3 separate regions of the Homo sapiens genome follow, and regions 1 and 2 are each linked to region 3. The links are contacts of gene promoters, found by promoter capture Hi-C in blood cells and fetal thymus (Javierre and others, 2016). All regions are on one chromosome and are shown on one strand. Each heading gives the region's core, a stretch centred on a gene start or on the middle of the fragment in contact. The rest is flanking DNA. Distances are from core to core; before and after follow the strand shown.

The links. Contacts are between HindIII fragments. The CHiCAGO score rates a contact against its expected background, and 5 or more counts as called.
Region 1: a fragment that was not itself captured here is called in contact with the fragment with the promoter of BBS10 in region 3 in 1 of 17 cell types (neutrophils); the score reaches 6.7 in neutrophils.
Region 2: a fragment that was not itself captured here is called in contact with the fragment with the promoter of BBS10 in region 3 in 4 of 17 cell types (M0 macrophages, M1 macrophages, M2 macrophages and 1 more); the score reaches 7.3 in M0 macrophages.

The regions. Positions count from the first base shown.
Region 1 is chr12:76,791,317-76,795,482 of GRCh38, reverse strand. The region is part of intron 1 of ZDHHC17 (zDHHC palmitoyltransferase 17); the gene reads right to left. Among named protein-coding and RNA genes, the nearest start is that of ZDHHC17, 29 kb to the right of the region's middle. The HindIII fragment of the contact is 6,806 bases long and covers 1-4,166 here.
Region 2 is chr12:76,070,901-76,074,815 of GRCh38, reverse strand. It overlaps NAP1L1 (nucleosome assembly protein 1 like 1), which reads left to right. Exons shown (of 15, transcript NM_004537.7): 2 at 577-613. The coding sequence starts at 597. Among named protein-coding and RNA genes, the nearest start is that of NAP1L1, 12 kb to the left of the region's middle. The HindIII fragment of the contact is 4,355 bases long and covers 342-3,915 here.
Region 3 is chr12:76,346,855-76,351,263 of GRCh38, reverse strand. It overlaps BBS10 (Bardet-Biedl syndrome 10), which reads left to right and starts at 2,849. Exons shown (of 2, transcript NM_024685.4): 1 at 2,849-3,102; 2 at 3,477-4,409. The coding sequence starts at 2,906. RefSeq lists enhancers at 2,448-2,497, 1,644-2,593, 2,594-3,543. The HindIII fragment of the contact is 11,737 bases long and covers 1-4,409 here.

The DNA of each region.
Region 1 (4,166 bases), core at 681-3,180, 450 kb before region 3:
AAAAGAATAAAAACTTGATCACATCTTTCAGGGAGAACAGAATAATATACCCAACAAAACATGTATTGAGAGCCTGCTATACATAAAGCTCTCTACAATGTACACTTGGACCCCACCCAGGATAGGGTAAGACATGTGCAACGTTAAAGAGGTTGTCAAAAAACGCAGTAATCAAGATCAACAACAACAAAAACAACAACGTTTTAATGGAATATTTTTAAAACAAAACCAATGCAACAAAACACACACACACACACACACACACCCATGAACCAAACATCAACATTTTAAAACAGAGACAGCATCAGAATCACTAACTCTTCCTTTTGCTTCAGGCTCCACTATAGCTCAGAGCATCACTGTGCATGTATACAAAATATAGCCTGTCATCCTGAAGGACTTCCAATCCAGAATGGAAAGACAAAGTAGAGAAGAAAAATAAGTCAAATATTATAAGCAAGAGCCTTCCAATAATAAGTAAAAACACAGATGAGGGCAACATAATATCCAAAAGGTAATAACATAACTTGAAAAAACTTTGAAAATGTGCTACGGCAAAATGCTATTCTTTTTTACTATGGACAAATACATTGCTTTTACATACCAATAATATTCATAGAATAAAAATAAGTCTCTTTCTGAGGATTACTATCATAAAGTTTTCAAGAAACTTTAATTTTATTTTCATGCCCAGAGACCTCATTTACTGTACATAATGATTAAATTGTATTCTCAGTTTGTTTCACTGACATTGCCAAATGCGAGCTTAAAAATGTTACTGGAAATTAGACTTTTTTTTTCCAGTAACATATTAAAATTAACCTATGTAAGTATCTGTTTTGTGCCTCCGATAAGGTTGTTTTTATTTCCTTAGTAAAAGGTATCTATTTTTTAAAATATGCCTTTAACTAAACATATCTCAAATAATTCTACAGTGGCAGAGTTATACTCACTAAAGAAAAGGTATATATGAAAATCTCCAACCTGCTTTATTACCTAACAAATTTTGTAATAAAGAACTTTATTTCTCACTTTTAAACAGACTGGATACTGGTTTATCTCTAGGACTAGTACCTTGTCAATGTGACAAATGACAACACTCTATCAAGATAATCACAACTATCAATAGGCCTAGGAGTAACAGTTCTAATTATAAAACATATTTTTAACATGTTCATATAAATAAGCATATCTAACATAGATAATAATTTTTAAGCTAAAAATTTGCTATTATATATTAAATATATTTTCAACATACAAATATTTAGTTCATTAAACTCTTTAAAATCCTGTAATTTGGCCGGGTGCAGTGGCTCACGCCTGTAATCTCAGCACTTTGGGAGGCAGAGGCAGGTGGATCACAAGGTCAGGAGGTTGAGACCATCCTGGCTAACACAGTGAAACCCCGTCTCTACTAAAAAATACAAAATTTAGCCCAGCATGGTGGCAGGCGCCTGTAGTCCCAGCTACTCGGGAGGCTGAGGCAGGAGAAAGGCATGAACCCAGGAGGTGGAGCTTGCAGTGAGCCACGATCGCGCCACTGTGCTCCAGCCTGGGCAACAGAGTGAGACTCTGTCTCAAAAAAATAAAATAAAATCCTGTAATTTTTCCTCGATGTTAATGGAAACCAAGAAGCAATTTAATTGCTATTTCTACCAAGAAAAGCAATACTAATTTAAAAATATGTATGTGTGTCATTGTAACTTTTAAGAACGCAGTAATTCCATTAGAAGCAGCTTGGTATAATAGAAAAAAATCCACGACTGAGAGGCTAATGAATAAAAGTCCGCCACTCCCCTACCTAGGGTACACCTAACAAGTCAATTAACTACTATAGGGTACAGATCTCTCCTTCGTAAAACGGGATTTGGATAAAATAAGCAAAAAGTTCCTCTGAGGTGCCTCAAGGTAAAAGTGGAAGAGCTCAGAGATTTCAAACTCCACACACTCATTCCCTTCTTTTGAGGCAGAGCCTCACTCTGTCACCCAGGCTGGAGTGCAGTGGCATGATCTCAGCTCACTGCAACCTCCGCCTCCCAGGTACAAACCATTCTCCTGCCTCAGCTTCCTGAGTAGCTGGGACTACAGGCACACACCACCACACCTGCCTAATTTTTCTATTTTTAGTAGAGACAGGGTTTCACCATGTTGGCCAGGTTGGTCTCAAACTCCTGGCCTGAAGTGATCTACCACTTCGGCCTCCCAAAGTGCTGGGATTACAGGCAGGAGCCACTGCACTCAGCCTCATTCCCGTCTTAAACAAAGCACTTCATTATTTGTTTTTAGATACTGGGTATTAAAAACTTTAAGCAAATTAAATTTAGCAGAGTTTATCTGAGCAAAGGACAACTCACGAATCTGACAACACTAATAACCAAAAGAGGTTCAGCAAGCTCAGCTTCAGAGCATGAGCAGAGGGTTTCAACAGGCTGAACTTGGAAGCAAAGCAATTACTTGATCAGCCATAGCTAGCTAGGCATTTGCCTTATTTGATCATGATCCAGTAAAAGGTCCCAAGTTAGAGGTCAGTTGGTGATTTCTAACTGATAATGTCTCTAGTTAGACTTAAGTTTGATGTCACTGTTTTCATTGAATTGGGTTTGGGTTTGCTTATGTAGGAACCCCAGGACATGCAGCTTTATACAAGATTTCTTCAATTAAAGGTTTAGCTGCTTTCTAAAAAAAAAGTTCTGAAACTTCTAGATTAGACATTCTCCAAGTTCTAAGGGGAACATAAAATGATTTCATATATTTTTTTAAAATTATAGTCACTTGGAAGATTCTTAACATTATCTAGTTGACAGTCAGAAGGTTTTTTTGTTTGTTTTAATAGTCCTGGCTTTGAAGAGAACTGGAAGGAGAGAAATTACCTCCAAAATCTGCTACTATAGGTAGCAGATAGTAGACAGGAATAGTAGACAGGAATGGGAAGAGCTGGGATAAGCTGAGCTGCGATAAACACTGCAGCAAAGAGAAATCAACATGACAAGACTCAATCTTATACAGCAGGTATAGGGCAAATACTAGTTTATATGCCAATGAGAGATGCCATAATACATGTTTATTTGCATACCTTGATGGGATTATATAACCAATCAACTATTCGCCAAGTGTCTATGTGCAAACTAGTTAACTTTTTAAAATGCTAGACCTATTGTGGTATAAGTGTAATCCGTCTTTGTCCCAGGTTCACGGCACAAGGCTCCTAAAATGCTTAAAATTTCTGAGTGATAGGACTGTTTTTTGTCATTCATTAAAGGTCCCTTTTGACTACACCAGAGTTTATGCCAATGAAGTGACCTGGAGTGGAGCCTATATAGCATAAACTCAGGAGGGGGCTGGTGACTAGAATGACCAAGTGATTAGAGAGCTGGAATTTTCAACTCTTCTTACTGACCTCCAGAAAGGAGAATGAGGTGCTGAATATTAAGTTCTATAAAACCTCCTGAAACAACATTTGACGAGTTTCTGGATTGGTGGAGACATTAAGGTTCTGAGAGGGTAGTATGCCTGGAGAGAGCATGGAAACCACACTCCCCTACTCAGACCTCCTCCCATACATCTCTTTCATCTGGCTGTTCCTGAGTTGTATCCTTTATAATAAACTGAAAAATGTAAGTAAAGTGTTTCCCTGTGTTCTGTGAGCAACTTATGCAAATTATCAAATCTGAGGAGGGAGTCATGGGAACCCAATTTATAGCCAGTCAGTCCAGAAATACTGGAGGCCTGATTTGTGACTGGCATCTGAAGTGGGGACTTCAGTCTTGTGGGACTGAGCCCTTGACTTGTTGCGTCTATGCTAATCCCAGATGTATAGTATAGTATACTAAGTATAGTGAGTTCAGGAATATTGTGAAAGAAGGGTAATGGAAGGGACTTGCCCTTCAAATTTAATTCTATTAAATTTATGGTATTTTGGGTCTCTACGGGTACTTGATTCATTTCTAAATTCTACCTAATACTAACGAACCTTCTTAAAACAAAATAAAACAAAAAGCATACGTATAAAGCTCCTTTTAAAAAAAATTATTTCACCCCAAATTACATTTGCAAAATAAAGGCATTTTGTTACAGCCATAGAAATAGGCAAAAAAAATTTGGCAACAAAGGAAAACCTGAGGTAGTGATTTCTTCTAAATTCTAGGCATATCATAAGGATCTTTAAA
Region 2 (3,915 bases), core at 1,270-3,769, 280 kb after region 3:
ACCTAGAGCTTTTGAAATAGTCTAAATGGCTATTTGATCCAGGGATTAAGTCTTTTAAAAAGATATCCAGAGGGCATAGTGAGTACAGTAGGCATCAGATTTTGGTTTTCTTAAACATGAATTACATAAAATGAATATTGCTAAATACGAAATGGATAAATGGATTTAAGATGCTACGTAGTCTAAAAATTTAAGCAGAAATTGACCTTTCTTGATTGTTGAAAGAATTTGAATGAAGATCCTTTTGTACTGTTCCTTTCCTATGATTCTAGCAAATGTTAGTTTTGTTTTTAACCAATGGTGCTATTATCATAGTCTTTATACAACAGATTCTAAAAGCTTAGTGGTAACTTTTTTGTTTTAAGTAATATCCTCTGAAAAATTATTTTTGGTACTAGTAAGGAAGAATTTGCATGTTCCATGAGTTTTTTCTTCTTAACACTGATAGTATTTTAAAGGAAATAGACATTTCTTGGGATAGTTTTCAGTATGGTATTGATTTAAAGGGTTTTGGTTTCTTATTTTTTTTTAATAAATCATATACTTTTTTTTTAACATTGATGTTTCTCTCCATAGATATTTGGAGTTCTTACAACATGGCAGACATTGACAAGTAAGTGGCAGAGAGTTGGTTCTTTTTCAGAGATTTGGCATCACTTTGTACTCTGTTCTTAACAGCAAGTAGTATGAATTATATATTATGAAAATGTAGTTACTAATGCTTAGTACCTACTTTTACAAAAGTCTAGTGCAGTGTATTCAAGGTAAAATATAGAATATATGATCATTAGCATATTTATGATCATATATTCGAAACCATCGTATATACTAAACCATTTGTCACTATTTTTAAGAAAATGCTGAGCATGATAATGGATTATAAATACTTGCAGAATTCATTTTTATTGTATATATTTCCCAAAGATTTACTGCTTGCATTGTAATGTACCAAACACCCAAAATGTGTATAAAATGTATTTATATATAGAGCTTAAGGAATATTCAGACAAGTTAAAAATAGAACATTACTATCAGAAGCCTTGTGTGCCCCTTCTCAATTGCACCTTTCCCTTGCAGACATGTAAGTGCTATCCTGGCTTTTGCTAATTCTTTTCTTTGCTTTCCTTCAGAGCTTTACCACCTATAAATAATCAGTGTTTAATTTTGAAAATCTGAATAGTGATCACAAAGTTAGCTATGTAAAGCAACATTGCCACTTTGCCACTGTTAATTGAAGGCTATAAGATAGGATAACAAGGAAGAAAGACTATCTGGGTCATAGTCTGGCCTCAAGTTTTGTGAGGCTTTATAAAAGACTTATTGTGGAGAAGTATTGGGCAAGGTCATGTGTCCTGGGAAGTATAGGTTTAATCAAGTTGGCATGTGGCAGGATTCTAATGTGGATGGATGTTTTATAGAAACAGGGTCAGGAAGAATGGGATGAGGTACACAGTGTTTGTTGCGTGTAATTTTACAGTAGCCCGTGTTAAAATAGAGCACTTGGGAGTGAGGGGATGCTAAATTATTTTCCATAGCTGTTGTAGGCATCAGCGAATGATAGTGGGAGGGCTGGAAACTTCAGTACAAGATCAACACATAGAAGTACAAATAAGAATTTGGGCCACTCTTACGCATTTTATCTTCAGCATTAAAAAAAAACAGATGAGTGACTTATGCATTCTGTCTTCAGCATTAAAAAAAACGAGAAGAGTGGAAACGGCATTTTTAATAATAATGGTTCCCAAAGTGATTGTCTCCTGTGTCACACCTCTAATTTGGATTGCTTAACCTTGGTGACATGGCTGTCATTGGATCTATTTTACTATCTTCCTGAGGTTTCACCTTGTTTCTCCTCTTGGGTTTGTTGTTTGCCATATCTCACATTGCTTTCTCGGTTTGTTAGTACCTTCTTGGAAGAGTACAAGGGAGCTAAATTATTTTAAGACATGTCATGACTGAAAACGACTATTCTACCTTTATGCCGGATAGTTTGGGTGTAGGATAGTAAGATGGGATCATTTTTCTTCAGAATTTTGAAGGCATTGCTCCATTGTCACCTTGCTTCCAGTGTTGCTGTGTTGAAGTTCAGAGTCATTGTAACTAACCATTTGTGTGTGATAATTAAGAAATATGTACATTTACACTATATATACATTTCTGGAAGCTACTCTGGCTTCAGAGTTCTGAAATTTTCACATTATTATTTTTTTCTCTTAATGTTACATATTCAGTGGTGGACCCTTTCAGTGCAGCAATTCAGTGGCTTTTAGTTCAGGGATATTCTTGATTGAACTTTGTGATTGTCTCATTTGTTTTCTCTTTCTGGAGCTACTATTAGATGTTGTGTGTTGGATTGCTCTCATGACCTTTTGTCCTATTTTCCATCTCTGTCTCTTTGCTCTTCTTTCTGGACAGAACTGAAGACTTTCAGCTTGTGTTGAGTTTTAAAATTTCTGTTGTTTTAGTTTCCAAGACCTGCTTCGTTCTTCCTGTTTTTTTGTTTTTTTTTTTTTTTAAATAGCATCCTCTTCTTGTTTCATTGATGATAATGTCTTTTCTCTGGATGTTTCTTCCATCTTTATAGTCCATTTGCTCTTACATTTTCTTTCTCTCATTTGTTTTGGTCTCAATCTAGGATGCTTTCCTCAAATATAAATCAATACTTGGTTGGCTGCTCATTAAGATTGGATTGGGTGGGGTGTAGGGACACTTCAGACATGTTTAAAAAAGAAAATTGATTGGAAAATTTGAGCGTTGGAGTGGGGAGGCTTGTTAATTTGGGATTTCAGTGTAGGGTCACCAGAGTGGGCATTTGTTAGAAACCCCAGTGTTAGAATGGTCATTTTTTTTTTTTTCTGGGCTAGTCAGATTCATCGTTGAACAGTGTCTGGGTAAAGATCTGGCTTCTGGTGTTCCTTTAAATGTAGAGGAGGCTCTACATTTAGCATTCTAATGTGTACATAGTCCTATATCTTTGATACTGTTGACTGTGTCTGTTGTCTTCCAGTCCAAGTTCTGAATTTTACCCTTTCCTGAGAGGAAACTGAATATTTCTGCTAGTGTAGAGAAGATCTAATGATTTAACTGCTTATCAGTTTTTACTTTCTTGTTTTAGCGACCTTCTCTCCTGTCCCACCCCTTGCCCTAGTTCTAGAAATGTACCTGGTGCTACCAGTTCTTATCCTTTTGAAGACTGATTGGGCTGCTTCTCAGCTTTCCCCACTGCTAATCTTAGATTTCAGTTCTCTCAATGAAATTATCACTTGTCTGGTTTCCAGCTTCCAAAATGTTGCTGCCCTTGTTTTCTTTGATTTCAGTGTTAGCCTGCTAACAAAACAAAACAAAAAAACCCTTTATCATAATTTTAGTGGAGATTTTAGAAGGATTAAGATCAGATGAGTTTGTGGCATCTGCCATCTTAACTTTGCAACTCTCATTTTAAACTTTAAAAAGAGTAAATTGGTTGTGACAGCTTGATTTCCCCCTTCCTTATTATTTAATTTTGGATGCCTGTTAGCCCTGGGAGGGTGGAAGTCAGAGGGGAGTCTTGTGCTTGAAAACCAGAGTCAGTAAACCTTTCTCTGTAAAAGGCTTGGTGGTAAACATTTTCAGCATTTTGGGCCACATACGATTCTCTAACTGCAGTTGGCCCTCTGTGTCTGTGGGTTCAGCATCCATGAGTTTGCATCTATGAATTCAACCAACTGCAGATGGAAAATATTAGGGTAAAAAACAATAAAATATAACAGCACAATAATAAATACAAATAAGCAATAGAACATAACAACTATTGTTTGTTTGTTTTGTTTTTAATAGAGAATTCTTACTGTGTTAATCAGGCTGGTCTTGAACTCCTGGCCTCCAGTGATCCTCTTGCCTTGGCTTCCGGAATGTTGGGATTGTAGGCATGAGCCA
Region 3 (4,409 bases), core at 1,600-4,099:
AACATCAGATGAGTTCCGAGACATCATTCCTCTCTGGTTTTCCCCCACCCTCCTTTCTTCCCATTCTTGCTCTCTGCTCAGGGTCCAGTTGCTTCTGGCTGTCATTTGGTTTGGTTTTATTAATTGGGGAGAAAAAGATGGGAGGGCCTGCCGGTTCCTCCTATCTTGTTCATAGCAATAAGGATTAAGGAAAACGGCCCCTCATTGTCCAACCTCGTGAAACATCTACAAGATCATTTTCTTGCTAATACTGGCATGCTTCGACTCTAGATGATGTATGTTGTGCCATTATGCTAGTTGAATCTTCTGCATCTCACAAAATATCACTTGTGGGAATAATAAACCAGGAGAGTGGTGACCTACCACAGTAATTTGGTGGGTGCGTCAGAGGCATCTGAACCAGAGCAACTCCAGTAATTTGGTGGGTGCGTCAGAGGCATCTGAACCAGAGCAACTCCATCTTGAATAGGAGCTGGGTAAAATGAGGCTAAGATCTAGGCTGCATTCCCAGATGATTAAGGCATTCTAAGTCACAGGATGAGATAGGAGGTTGGCACAAGATACAGGTCATAAAGACCTTGCTGATAAAACAGGTTGCAGTAAAGAAGCCAGCCAAAACCCACCAAAACCAAGATGGCCACGAGAGTGACCTCTGGTTGTCCTCACTGCTATACTCCCACCAGCACCAAAGACAGTTTACAAATGCCATGGCAATGTCAGGAAGTTACCCTATATGGCCTAAAGAGGGGAGGCATAAATAATCCACTCCTTGTTTAGCATATCATCAAGAAATAACCATAAAAATCGGCAACCAGCAGCCCTTGGGGCTGCTTTGCCTATGGAGTAACCATTCTTTTATTCCTCTTTCTTAATAAACTTGCTTTCACTTTATGGACTCGTCCTGAATTCTTTCTTGCATGAGATCCAAGAACCCTCTCTTGGGGTCTGGATTGGGACCCTTTTCCTCTAACAGGTGTAATATAAATATCTGTTGAGTGCTAACTATGCCAGGCACTATGCAAAGTGTTTAGTGAACATTCTCCACCTACTCAAAACCTCTTGAGATTTTTATTTTGTATATGTTATCTCCACTGGTTTTTTTGGCGGGGATTGTTTTGTTTTGAGACAAGGTCTCGCTCTGTCGCCCAGGCTGGAGTGCAGTGGTGCAATCTTGGCTCACTGCAACCTCCCTTCCCGAGTTCAAATTATTCTCATACCTCAGCCTCCAGAGTAGCTGGGATTACAAGCATGCACCACCATGCCCAGCTAATTTTTGTATTTTTAGTAGAGACGGGATTTTGCTATGTTGGCCATGCTGGTCTTGAACTCTCGGCCTCCTGTGATCTCCCACCTCGGCCTCCCAAAGTCCTGGAATTACAGCCATGAGCCACTGCGGCAGGCCCATTGTTTTTAAAGATGAGAAAAGCAGAGATCAAAGAGGTTACTTGGTGAATGCCACAGGTAAGGAAATGACAGAGCAAATCCAGGTCTGAATCCAAAGCCCATGCTCTCAAGTGCCTGTGTTTTAGGCCAGGCAAGGTGGCTCATGCCTGTAATCCTAAAACTTTGGAAGGCCAAGTTGGGAGGATCACTTGAGGCCAGGAATTCAAGATCAGCCTGGGCAACACAGGGAGACCCTGTCTCTACTAAAAGAGAAAATAACCAGGCGTAGTGAGGCACAAAGCGACTTGAAGGCTAAGACAGGAGGATCACGAGCTCAGGAATGCGGAGCTGCAGTAAGCTATGATCTCGCCACTGCACTCCAGCCTGGGCGGCAGAGTGAAACTTCATCTCTTAAAAAACAAAAAAAATGTTATAAGAGACAGTATTTTCTGTCTTTGGGTTATATACAATAATCCTTGGCCATGTGTTTTAAAGCATACTGTTGATCACCGACGTGATTAATGGATTTAAATCTGCACAGCGGCTCATGCCTGTAATCCCAACACTCTGAAAGGCCGTGGCAGGTGGATCATTCAGGTCATGAGTTCGAGACCAGCCTGGTCAACATGGTGACATCCCCATCTCTACTAAAAATACAAATATTGGCGGGGCACAGTGGCGTATGCCTGTAATCCCAGCTACTTGAGAGGCTGAGGCACGGGAATCGCTTGAGCCCGGGAGGCGGAGGTTGCAGTCAGCCGAGATTGCGCCACTGCACTCCAGCCTGGGCGACAGAGCGGGAGTCCATCTCAAAAAATAGAGACTTCGCATCATTTCTGCTTAATATATTTGTGGTGTCTAGAGTTTTATTGTGATACCTGAGTCTAGGAAATGTGGTAAAGCCTCTGCAGCAGACATAAAGCCTGCAATTCATGGCTGTGGCCAGGCTCTCCTCACCTGTCCTGCATCTACAAATTATTTCCGTTATGGTAAGGAGAGCAACTCGTGGGGAATGTGGACAGGAACATGCGTGAATCCAAGGCAGAGGTTTTGCCCCGGAAAAAGCAGCTTCTGGCAGGGGATGAAAGCCAGCAGAGTTCCAACCGGGGTGCCCTCTCCTTCACGCAGGCCCCACTACCGTGTTGACTTAGGAAGAAAGTTTCTCGGGAGACTAAGGGATTTGGGGGCAGCGGACGCCACTGGAGGGAGATGAATTCACCTAGGGAGCCGGGGAGGGGCTTAGGGTTGCCGCTCCAGGCACAGCTGCTGGAAATCCTAGTCTGTTTTTTCTGCCTTCGCGTACAACGGGCCAGCTCACCCCACCTGGCAAAGCTGCAGGGCTTTTCCACCAGGCGGACAGAAGGGCAGCCCTCTCGCCCAACCAAGAAGCCGTGCTACCCCGGCTTCGACTCCTGGCTTCCGGGTTTTCTCCCCGCCTATTCCGTTTCCGGCCGTTCCCACCCCTGTTTTCGGTCGGCCCGGGTGTTCTGCAAGCTGGTCAAAAAGGGGAAGCGGCCCAGATATGTTAAGTTCTATGGCCGCTGCAGGGTCTGTGAAGGCGGCGTTGCAGGTGGCCGAGGTGCTGGAAGCCATCGTGAGCTGCTGCGTGGGGCCCGAGGGACGGCAAGTTTTGTGTACGAAGCCCACTGGCGAGGTGCTTCTCAGCCGGAATGGAGGCCGCCTCCTGGAGGCGCTACACTTAGAGCATCCCATAGCCAGGTACCCGCGTCCCACACGCTAACCCGTAGCCGGGCACCCCAGGCAGCCTCTGTGGAGCTCTTGTCCCATCCTGAGGCGATGCGTACTTAGAAAGACTGACCTCGGGTGAAACCGCTGTATGCTCGGAATTAGAGCCCTGCCCAAGGGAACACTCCTGCACCCCAAATCTTACCAATTCTCAAGACCACTTCTCCCCACTCCACCCAACGGTGGAATCTTGGAATAGAGCAGAGTTTTTTCCAAGAAAGGAAAAAACTAAGGATGTATCCAAGGAACAATATTCTCATTTTATGCTTATGGCTGTGTAAACATGGTTTTAAGATGTGGGAAGCCAGCCTTCTGAAAATGAGTTGCTTTATTTCTTTTTTGTACAGGATGATAGTGGACTGTGTTTCCAGTCATCTCAAAAAAACAGGAGATGGTGCAAAAACATTTATTATCTTTCTTTGCCATTTGCTTAGAGGACTTCATGCAATCACAGACAGAGAAAAGGATCCTTTGATGTGTGAAAACATTCAAACCCATGGAAGGCATTGGAAAAATTGTTCTCGGTGGAAATTTATTTCCCAGGCTCTCCTAACGTTTCAGACACAAATATTAGACGGTATTATGGACCAGTACCTAAGTAGACACTTTTTGTCTATCTTTTCGTCTGCTAAAGAGAGAACATTGTGTAGGAGCTCTTTAGAGTTGCTCTTAGAAGCATACTTTTGTGGAAGAGTGGGAAGAAATAATCATAAATTTATTTCACAGTTGATGTGTGACTACTTTTTCAAGTGTATGACTTGTAAAAGTGGGATTGGTGTATTTGAGTTAGTGGATGACCATTTTGTAGAGTTGAATGTTGGTGTCACTGGCCTTCCTGTTTCAGATTCCAGGATCATAGCTGGTCTTGTGCTTCAGAAAGATTTTTCTGTGTACCGCCCAGCAGATGGTGACATGCGAATGGTGATAGTAACAGAAACCATTCAGCCTCTTTTTTCCACTTCTGGATCAGAGTTTATTCTAAATTCAGAAGCACAGTTTCAGACATCTCAATTTTGGATTATGGAAAAGACAAAAGCAATAATGAAACATCTACATAGTCAGAATGTAAAATTGCTCATATCTAGTGTGAAACAACCAGATTTAGTTAGTTATTATGCAGGGGTGAATGGCATATCAGTGGTTGAGTGTTTATCATCAGAAGAAGTTTCTCTTATCCGGAGGATCATTGGTCTTTCTCCATTTGTACCACCACAGGCCTTTTCGCAGTGTGAAATACCTAACACTGCTTTGGTGAAATTTTGTAAACCTCTTATCCTTAG